Regions from separate parts of the Homo sapiens genome. Here regions 1 and 3 are each linked to region 2. Evidence: promoter capture Hi-C in 16 types of primary human blood cells and fetal thymus (Javierre and others, 2016). All regions are on one chromosome and are shown on one strand. Each heading gives the region's core, a stretch centred on a gene start or on the middle of the fragment in contact. The rest is flanking DNA. Distances are from core to core; before and after follow the strand shown. Region 1 overlaps RNF139 (ring finger protein 139). Region 2 holds the start of NTAQ1 (N-terminal glutamine amidase 1). Region 3 has its middle 6.1 kb from the start of TYW2.

What was found. The method cuts DNA at HindIII sites, captures the fragments that hold promoters and counts their contacts. A CHiCAGO score of 5 or more calls a contact.
Region 1: a fragment that was not itself captured here is called in contact with the fragment with the promoter of NTAQ1 in region 2 in 1 of 17 cell types (neutrophils); the score reaches 9.6 in neutrophils.
Region 3: a contact is called between a fragment that was not itself captured here and the fragment with the promoter of NTAQ1 in region 2, in 2 of 17 cell types (M1 macrophages and naive CD8 T cells). The highest score is 6.0, in M1 macrophages.

Annotation. Positions count from the first base shown.
Region 1 is chr8:124,478,402-124,481,456 of GRCh38, forward strand. The region is part of intron 1 of RNF139 (ring finger protein 139); the gene reads left to right. Among named protein-coding and RNA genes, the nearest start is that of RNF139, 5.0 kb to the left of the region's middle. The HindIII fragment of the contact is 4,337 bases long and covers 1-3,055 here.
Region 2 is chr8:123,415,048-123,418,191 of GRCh38, forward strand. It overlaps NTAQ1 (N-terminal glutamine amidase 1), which reads left to right and starts at 1,727. Exons shown (of 6, transcript NM_018024.3): 1 at 1,727-1,885. The coding sequence starts at 1,803. It also overlaps a transcript of ATAD2 not described here. RefSeq lists silencers at 1,306-1,785, 1,896-2,095, 2,416-2,465 and an enhancer at 1,899-2,493. The HindIII fragment of the contact is 17,257 bases long and covers 1-3,144 here.
Region 3 is chr8:124,455,416-124,458,501 of GRCh38, forward strand. No RefSeq gene overlaps it. Among named protein-coding and RNA genes, the nearest start is that of TYW2, 6.1 kb to the left of the region's middle. The HindIII fragment of the contact is 186 bases long and covers 1,630-1,815 here.

The DNA of each region.
Region 1 (3,055 bases), core at 464-2,963, 1.1 Mb after region 2:
AGGCCAGGAGTTTGACACCAGCTTGGCCAAATGGCACAACCCGTGTCTACCAAAAAATTAGCCGGGTGCAGTGACTCCTGCCCATAGTCCCAGCTACTGTGGAGGCTGAGGCACGAGAATCTCTCGAATCGGGGAGGTGGAGGTTGCAGTGAGCCAAGATCGCGCCACTGCACTCCAGCCTGGGCGATAGAGCGAGACTGTCTCAAAAAAAAAAAAAAAGTCAAAAAAAATTTATCAGATTGGTGAAGAGTTCAAAGTTTTATTAGTTTTGCAAAGGTATTTACCTTTTTGAAATAGGTAAATTTATACAATTTTGGAAGACTTTTTTTTTTTTTTGAGACGGAGTTTGCTCTTGTTGCCCAGGCCGGAGTGCAATGGCGTGATCTCGGCTCACCACAACTTCCACCTCCCAGGTTCGGGCGATTCTCCGGCCTCAGCCTCCCGAGTAGCTAGGATGATTACAGGCAAGCGCCACCACCCCCGGCAAATTTTTTTCTATTTTTAGTAGAGACAGGTTTTCTCCATGTTGGTCAGGCTGTTCTCCAACTCCCGACCTCAGGTGATCTGCCCACATCGTCCTCCCAGAGTGCTGGGATTACAGGCGTGAGCCACCGTGCCTGGCCCGGAAGACTCTTAATTTCAGTGTAAAACCATTTGGCAGTATCAACTGTCATTTACAACTGACTTCTCAGTGTTTTGTTTTGTTTTTGAGACAGTCTCACTCTGTCACCAAGGCTGGAGTGCAGTGGCGTGATCTCAGCACACTGCAACCTCCACCTCCCAGGTTCAAGCGATTCTCCTGCCTCAGCCTCCCAAGTAGCTGGGATGCCTGGCTCGTACAACTTTTGACTCACAATTTCAATTCTAGGGAATTGGCCTAGAGAGATAGTTTGCTTAAGGACTATGGGCAAGCATTACTGGAAATAACAAAGCAACAAACTTAATCTAAATATGTATTGATACAAATCTGTTCATTGTATTAGGTCTAGCCATGCAATAAAGTTCTTGAAAGAAATGAGATAGCTATTTTTGGTGCCGAAAAAGACTTCAGAAAACCTCTGAAGTGAAAAAACAAAGCCGAAGTAATTATCACTGGCAGAGGAATAGACAGAGATTTCTCAACAGTGGCAGTATTGACATTTTGGACAGGATAATTCTTTGTTTGCGGATGGGAGCTCTCCTGTGCACTGTAAGATTTTTAGCAGCATCACTATCCCCTGCCCATTAGATGCCAGTAGCACCTTGCACCCCCACACCCCAGTGTGACAGCCAAAACTGTCCCTGGATATTGCCAAATCATGGTTGAGAACCATTGGGATAGACAAATAGATTAGTACTTAGCCTTATTTATAATTACATAGCCCAGAAACAGACACCAATGTATATATAGAAATAATGTGTTTCAGAGATAGAATTGAAGTACATTGAGGTAAATATGGACTGTTGAATTAATGATCATTTTGTTACACCTTTGGAAATAAATTATACTAGATGTCTACCTTATGTCAATATATAGACAGTCACTTCTAGGTTGAGCAGTGTAGTGAGACCCTGTCTCTGCAAAAATAAATATTTAAAATAATAGCCATACTTGGTGGTGGGTGCCTGTAGTCCTATCTTACTCAGGAGGCTGGGGTGAGAAGATCGCTTGGGCCTAGGAGTTCAAGGCTGCAAGTGAGCTATGATTGCATAACTGCACTCCAGCCTGGCTGGGTGACAGAGCAAGACCCTGTCTCTTAAAAAAAAAAAATAGTCATTTCTAAGTGTATTCTTACCTAGATGTATATGTAAATATGAAATGCAGAACTTTAAATTTTTAGAAAAAAATATGGAATATTTTATTTTTCCAATCTTAGATTAAGGAAGAAATCCTTAAAAATATATAAAAGCAAATACATAATGAAGATTGATAAACCGAATGATATTGAGGTTAAAAACCTATGTTAATCAAAAGATCGCACCACTGCACTCCAGCCTGGGCAACAGAGCGAGACTCCATCACTAAAAAAAAAAAAAAAAAAAAAAGGAAGTCAAATCTTGGGTAAGGGGGAACTACTGTACTTACATTTACCCATTTATTATAAAGGCAATTACAAAGGACACAGATGAATTAACCCGATGGAAGGAGATGTACAAGGTGAGACAAAGAAGGAGAGAAGAGGAGAAGGGGCGTGGAGCTTCAGTGTTCAGCTATCTGAGAGCTCACAGAACTCAGTCCTTTTGGGCTTCTATGGAAGTTCATTAAATAGGCAAGATTGATTAGATCACTAGTCATTGGTTTATGGACTCAAGTTTCAGCTTCTTTCTTCCCAGAAGTGGCGGCTGGGGGTAGGAATCAAAGTTATAACCCTTAATCACTGGGCTGATTCCCCTGGCTACCTAGCCCCCATCCTGAAGCTATCTAGGGGCCCCCAGGCACCAGTCATCTGATTATTGTACAAAACAGTCATCACTCCAGAGATTCCAAGGATTTTAGAAGCTATGTCAGAAAATGGGACAAAGACCAAATATTAATATTTTTTTTATGATATCACAGATGGGAAAGACAAACTAGAAAAACTTGCTTTAACTCTTCATTTAACACCTCTCTGTAGGGTTTGGCTTTTTAAAATCCATGTTCATATATTTTTGATAAAAGCATACTTATTATAAGTTTAGTTTAAAAGCAAAAGTTTAATTTTGTGTTAATACTTAGAATACCAGGTTTTTTTTCAACCTAAAATGAGAATCCAATAGAAATGTTTTCTTTATAATTTATCAAGTATACCAACAGATTAACAACATTTCAAGACACTTTGTTGTAAACTTCATTGCGGAAGGCTCCCTTGGGAGTAAGGTAGTAGTAACATTTATTTCTGTGCTTTTCCATATTTATTCTGTCAGGTATTGAAATGTTTTTCCACAGGTTGCTTTTTGTTTTAGAGGTATTTCGGGTACTTGGAGAATTGTAAATATTATGTTTTGTACCCTGATTTTTAGTCATAAGTTTCCAAAAGAGGGTAAGGGTATGAATAGACTTTACACATAAAAGAGTGAAACACTTTGTTATGTAACA
Region 2 (3,144 bases), core at 477-2,976:
GATTTGTTTCAAGATTTAGAACTCCTTTTAGCAGTTCCTGTAGTGGTGGCTTGGTAGTGGCAAATTCTCTCACCATTTGTCTGAAAAAGACTGTATCTTTCCTTAATATATGATGCTTAGTTTCGCTGGATACAAAATTATTGGCTGATAATTGTTTTGTTTGAGGAGGCTAAAGATAGGGCCCCAATCCCTTCTAGCTTATAGGGTTTCCCACTCACTTTAAAGGAGAAATGTTTACCAGAGTTGTTATATAGCATAGAGGCTATGTGGAAGTTTGTATTAGGAGCTGAGAGGCAATAAAATTGGTAATTGACACAGGAACTGTGCTCCAAGTCTTTAGGATTTATCAGCTTTGAGACTGAAGAGATTGGAGAATCCAACTGTGGATGGCTAAAATCAATGTAAACATCTCAGTTTTTATAATGGGAAGTACCCTGATTAGCTAGCTATGCTCATTGCAAATATAAACAATTCAGAAGACTGTAAAGTGTAAAGACCTTGAAACTGAAAGTCCCTGATATTAATATCATTCATTCACCAGAGATAAACACTATTTTTTTTTTTTGAGACGGAGTCTCACCCTGTTGCCCAGGCTGGAGTGCAATGGCACCATCTCGGCTCACTGCAACCTCCGCCTCCCGGGTTCAGGCGATTCTCTTGCCTCAGCCTCCCGAGTATCTGGGATTACAGGCGCGCGCCTCCACGCCCAACTAATTTTTGTATTTTTAGTAGAGACGGAGTTTCACCATGTTGGCCAGGCTCGTCTCGAACCCCTGACCTCGTGATCCACCCGCCTCGGTCTCCCAAAGTGCTGGGATTACAGGCGTGAGCCACCGCACCCGGCCCTAAACACTATTTTAACAATATGGTGTCTTTTCTTCCAGACTGCCAGTAATTGAACAAAATATATGATTAACACAAAAAGGATACCATATGGACTCTTTAAACTTTTTTTTTTCAAATTTACTGTATCAGGGAATTAATATATCTTTTCGAGCCAATAGCTACAGGCCTTCCAATTTAAAAGATTAAGTTACAATAGAGTGAGATTTGGGGTGCTATCCCTTTCGGAAAGCGTCCTCGATGCGGTCATATTGGAATTAACCTCCACTCCCCTCTTCTCTGGGCTCCCGCAGACTCCAGGCTGAGTGCAGAAGCGTGGATTTTCACACCCAAACCTCTGTTATTTCAGTGTCTCACCTGGCTTCTCCACAGCGCAGAAGCTCAGCCCCTGGTTGGAAGAGCCTCCCCGCGGAGATTCACAGCAAAGCGCCATTCAGGGCCCAACTCCAAGCCCAAACCTAGCTCCTCCCCAAGCCGCCGCCAGAGACCCCTCTTCTCCCAAAGCTCACCGGGGCCCCGCCCCTGACTCCGCCCACCAGAGCCCGGTCCTCCAGTCCCGCCCCATCCCGGGCCCCACCCACCAGCCGGGCTCCGCCTACCCGGAAGCGCGCTGTCCTCCTCGTCCCGGGCTCCGCCCACCGGGAGTTCGCGCCACTCACCCCACCCCGGACCCGCCCACTTCGCTTGGGCTCCACCCTCCCAGGAACTGGCGCCGCTTGCCCCGAGCTCCGCCTACTTCGTCCCGGGCTTCCCGCGCCGGGAACTCGTGCTGCTAGTCCCGCCCTGGCCCCGCCCACCGCGCTACTGGCCCCACCACCCGGAAACTGCCCCGGCCCTCTCCCCCCGGGCTCCGCCCACCCCACGCCGGGAACCCACGCGGGCCACTACAAGCCCGCCCTTTCCTACGTCTGGTCCAGTCGGTCTTCCTCCGGCCCGGGCCCTGGCCCAGCTAGCCGGCCATGGAAGGTAATGGCCCCGCTGCTGTCCACTACCAGCCGGCCAGCCCCCCGCGGGACGCCTGCGTCTACAGCAGCTGCTACTGGTGAGGGGGCGCGGGCGCAGCCTCTGGGTCTCCCAGGCTCCCGGGCGGCGAGTCGCAACCGGGCCCCGCCTCTTCCCGGCCCCTCCTCGGGGGCGCTCCCGGCCTCTACCGGCGGGTTCTACAGTTTTGCGGGAGGAGGGAGCGGGAATGGCAGCTCTCGTCTCTTGAGTAGAGCGTGGGCTATTGGATGGGGTTGGGAATTCGTCCGGAATCATAGGGTCGATAGTGCATTACCTGTGCCTGGCGCTTGTCGGTTGGATTTGCTCAGCAGATCTCTGCTTCGGGGCCAGGAAGGGTGGAGCTCTGAAAATCTTTGGGGGTTACTCTGCTGAAGCCTGTGGGGTTTCAGACTGAGGTGAAGGTCATTTTAATTTTGTAAGAGAATGAAGGCACGGAGAGTTTTTCATACAGCACTTGCTATATGCCACGCGTTGTTCTGGGTGGTTTAGGTAAACTAAATCACTGAGCATCACAATAACCGTAAGAGGTAGGTATTGTTATCCCCAGTTGAAAGATGAGAGCACTGAAGCACAGAGGGCTGCAAGTAATTTGCGCAGGGCCACGTAGCTTGTGAATGAAGGAGTGGGGATTTACAGTCAGGGTCTGGCCCCGGAATCCACGCAGTGCACCCCTGTCCTAGGCCACCTCTGCAGCTGAAGTACCGCCCTTGCCTTAGTCCTCATACCTACTCTTTCCTGAGTAATGGCTTCTTCCCCAGCTTCTAGTCCTTGTACAGGAAACCTCAGTGCTATCTAAACCTACTCCTCCCCCTTCTGCTGGTCACTAAACCAATGCCACCAAGAGCTTAACATTTGTTCGGCCCTGATTGCATGTCAGGCTCAGTGGCAGGTGCTTCCATCGATGTCCAGGAGGTACCTTCTTTTATTATCGTTATCCTCATTTTACTAATAAAAAGACTGAGCCACAGAGAGGCTGTTCTGTGCCCCCAAATCACACATCTAGCAAGTGGTGGTGCTGAAACTGGAACCTCTTCGTGATTCTGAAGTTCATGCATCTTAACTACTGCACTATTTTTCTGTCCTGCCTCTCTTCTAAATCCCGTTAGTTCTCCTCCCTAATGTCCAGTCATTGTTTTATTCATTCATTCAATAAATGTTTATTAGGCACTTGGAGTATGTGGCATACTTCTGGGCACTGGGGATATAGCAGTGAACAAAATCGACAAATTCCCTCATGGATCCCTTGGTTCTTTCATTTTGAGAGAAAAGCAGATAAGGCCCGGTGCGATGGCTCACGCC
Region 3 (3,086 bases), core at 473-2,972, 1.0 Mb after region 2:
GAGAGGGTTTCACCATGTTGGCCAGGCTGGTCTTGAACTCCTGACATCAAGGGATCCACCCGCCTCGGCCTCCCAAATGCCTCTTAGAATTTAGATTCCACTCATTCAACTCCTGACTCCTCTACTTTCTGGGTGACCTCAGGCAAGTTATGAATCTCTCAAGATTTAGTTTCCTTATCTGTACATTAGGGTTAACAATTGTACATATCCTGTAGGGTAGTTCTTAGGTTTAAATGAATATATGTTAAGCTGTCATCATCGTGACTCACTGAGTGGTGAATACTTTTGTAAAATAAAAAGTATCTGAGACAGGTCTCAATCAGTTTAGAGGCTTATTTTGCCAAGGTTGAGGACACACATGGGAAAAAGACACAAGTCACAGTAGGATCTGTGGCCCACACATTTTTCCAAAGAGGATTTTGAGGGCTTCAGTATTTAAAGGGGAAAGTGAGGGTAGGAGGAGTAGGGGTAGAGGAAAAAAACAAAAAGGAGTGTAGGTAGTGAGTTAAGTGGTCACATTCTTGTGAGGCTTTGATTAGTGCTCACTGAATCCACATGTTACATGTGAAGTGGGGTAGAGGAACAGTCAATTAAGCATTTGTCAGGACTCAGTAAATATGCATATGTCTGAGGTGGGCAGAGGGATGGTTTCTAGTCTTGACTTTGTGCTGTATCTGTGAAGATAAGCTGTTTACATTGTCAAGGTAAGGGAGGCCAACTGAGGAGATATGGAATCTTCTATCTTGCGGCTGTGTTTAGGCAAAAGGAAAGGCAGTTTTTTTGCATGACTGAGTTTCCAGGCTTCACTTTTCCCTTTGGCATAGTAAGTTTGGGGTCTGACTTGTTTGTTTGTTTGTTTGTTTGTTTGAGATGGAGTTTCGCTCTTGTTGCCCAGGCTGGAGTGCAATGGCACGATCTCAGCTCACCACAACCTCCGCCTCCCAGGTTCAAGCGATTCTCCTGCCTCAGCCTCCCGATTAGCTGGGATTGTAGGCATGTGCCACCACGCCCGGCTAATTTTTGTATTTTTAGTAGAGACAGGGTTTCTCCATAGTCAGGCTGGTCTCGAACTCCCGACCTCAGGTGATCCACCCACCTCAGCCTCCCAAAGTGCTAGGATTACAGGTGTGAGCCACTGCGCCCGGCCTGGGGTCTGACATTTTATTTTCCTTTCACACTTCATTCTATCAGTCAGTCTTTGTATATGATGAACCACCACTTTCCAATTTGGCTGTGAGGGGTTGCTGTATGTCTGGCCTACTTGAGGCAGAATGTCATTATTTTGAAAAGCCATTCACTGATTAATTAGGAGATACTGTGTACTCTCTCCATTAAGCGCTGTGCTTGGAGCCAGTGACATAGAGATGAATAAAACTGAGTCCTGCCCACAATGGGATCACTATCTGGTGACACAGATACAGAGAAAACAATGTCAGTGCTGTTTACTGAGTGCTTAGATAGAAATAAGGGTTTTTATGGGCACACATAGGAGAGGCAGCCACCCTCATTTGAGGATGTGGGTTGAGGATTGAACAGGGTGACTAGGAAGGTAGGAGCAGGGATGCCTAAGGGAGTGTTAAAGAATGAGCAGGAGTTAATGTGTGGATGGAAGAACAGAAGCCTCCCTTAAGCTTTTTCTCTACTTAAGCATGTTCATTTACATTTTAGTTTTCTTTGAGGACTTGCTGGATTGCCCTGGTTGGGAAGAGGCATCTTATGGAACCAATGAAAAAAGACTGAAGGGTTCGGGAGGCTCATGGGGTCCTTGTCATCTCAGTCCAGCAATTTGTATAAGCTCTAAAGGCTTCCCATGCAAGCTTCAGTATTAGTTGCCAGTCAATGCAGCCACCTGATAGAGATATTGTGATTTTTAAAAAATAGTAATTTTTAAAAACTCCCTCAAACTTGAGCTGCTTTATTAACTTTGTAATTTAAAAAATTATATGAGTGCAGTAATATATGAGTACAATATGTGCCTTTGAAATACACAAATAGGCCAGGTGCGGTGGCTTATGCCTGTGATCCCAGCACTTTGGGAGGCTGTGGCAGGTGGATCACCTGAGGTCAGGAGTTTGAGACTAGCCTGTCCAACATGGCAAAACCCTGTCTCTACTAGAAATACAAAAATAAGCCAGGTGTGGTGGTGGGCTTCTATAATTCCAGCTACTTGGGAGGCTGAGGCAGGAGAATCTCTTGAACTCAGGAAGTGGAGGTTGCAGTAAGCCGAGATTGTGCCACTGCACTCCAGCCTGGGCAACAGAGCAAGACTCTGTCTCAAAAACAGAAAAACCATACACGAACAGAAATTAAAAATAGTAAGAAACAAATAGAATTTAAATTTCATTTTCTCCTACCCTGGGCATACATGTGACAAAATCCAATATATATCACTCTGAACAGCCTCAGGGTACAGCCACTTTATATTGCACAAGCTGTAAAAGTAGTCATTTTCAAACTCAACTATTATTTAAAATGATTACAAGCATTTAAAATGTTTAAAATAAAGATCCAACCCTGTTCACTTGGGAAACAGTTGTGGCAGTTCCTTAAAGTGTTGAACATAGGGTTAGCATATTACCCAGCAGTGAATTAACCAAATAAATAAGACATATGTGATAGAGGTATATATACCCAAGAGAATGCAAACATATGTCCACACAAAGGCTTGTGCGTGAATATTTGTAGCAGCATTATTCATAGACAAAATGTGGAAACAACCCAAAGTCCATCAACTGATGAGTGGTTAAACAAAATGTCATATATATACAATGGAATCTGTAAAAAGGAATGCAGTACTGATACATGGTTTCTGGATGAACCTTGAAAACATTATGCTGAGTGAAAGAATCCAGTTGCAAAAGGTCATTTATTGTATGGTCCCATTTATATGAAATGGCCAGAATAGGCAAATCTATAGAAACAGAAAGTAAGTTCCCAGGTGCTGGGGGGAGTGGAGAATGGAGAATGACTGCTAATAGGTACTGGGTTGATTTTGTGGGAAGATGAAAATGTTCTGAAAATAGATGGTGGTGATGATTGCACAACTCTATAATATATGAACCAGCCATTTAATTGTATATTTTTAA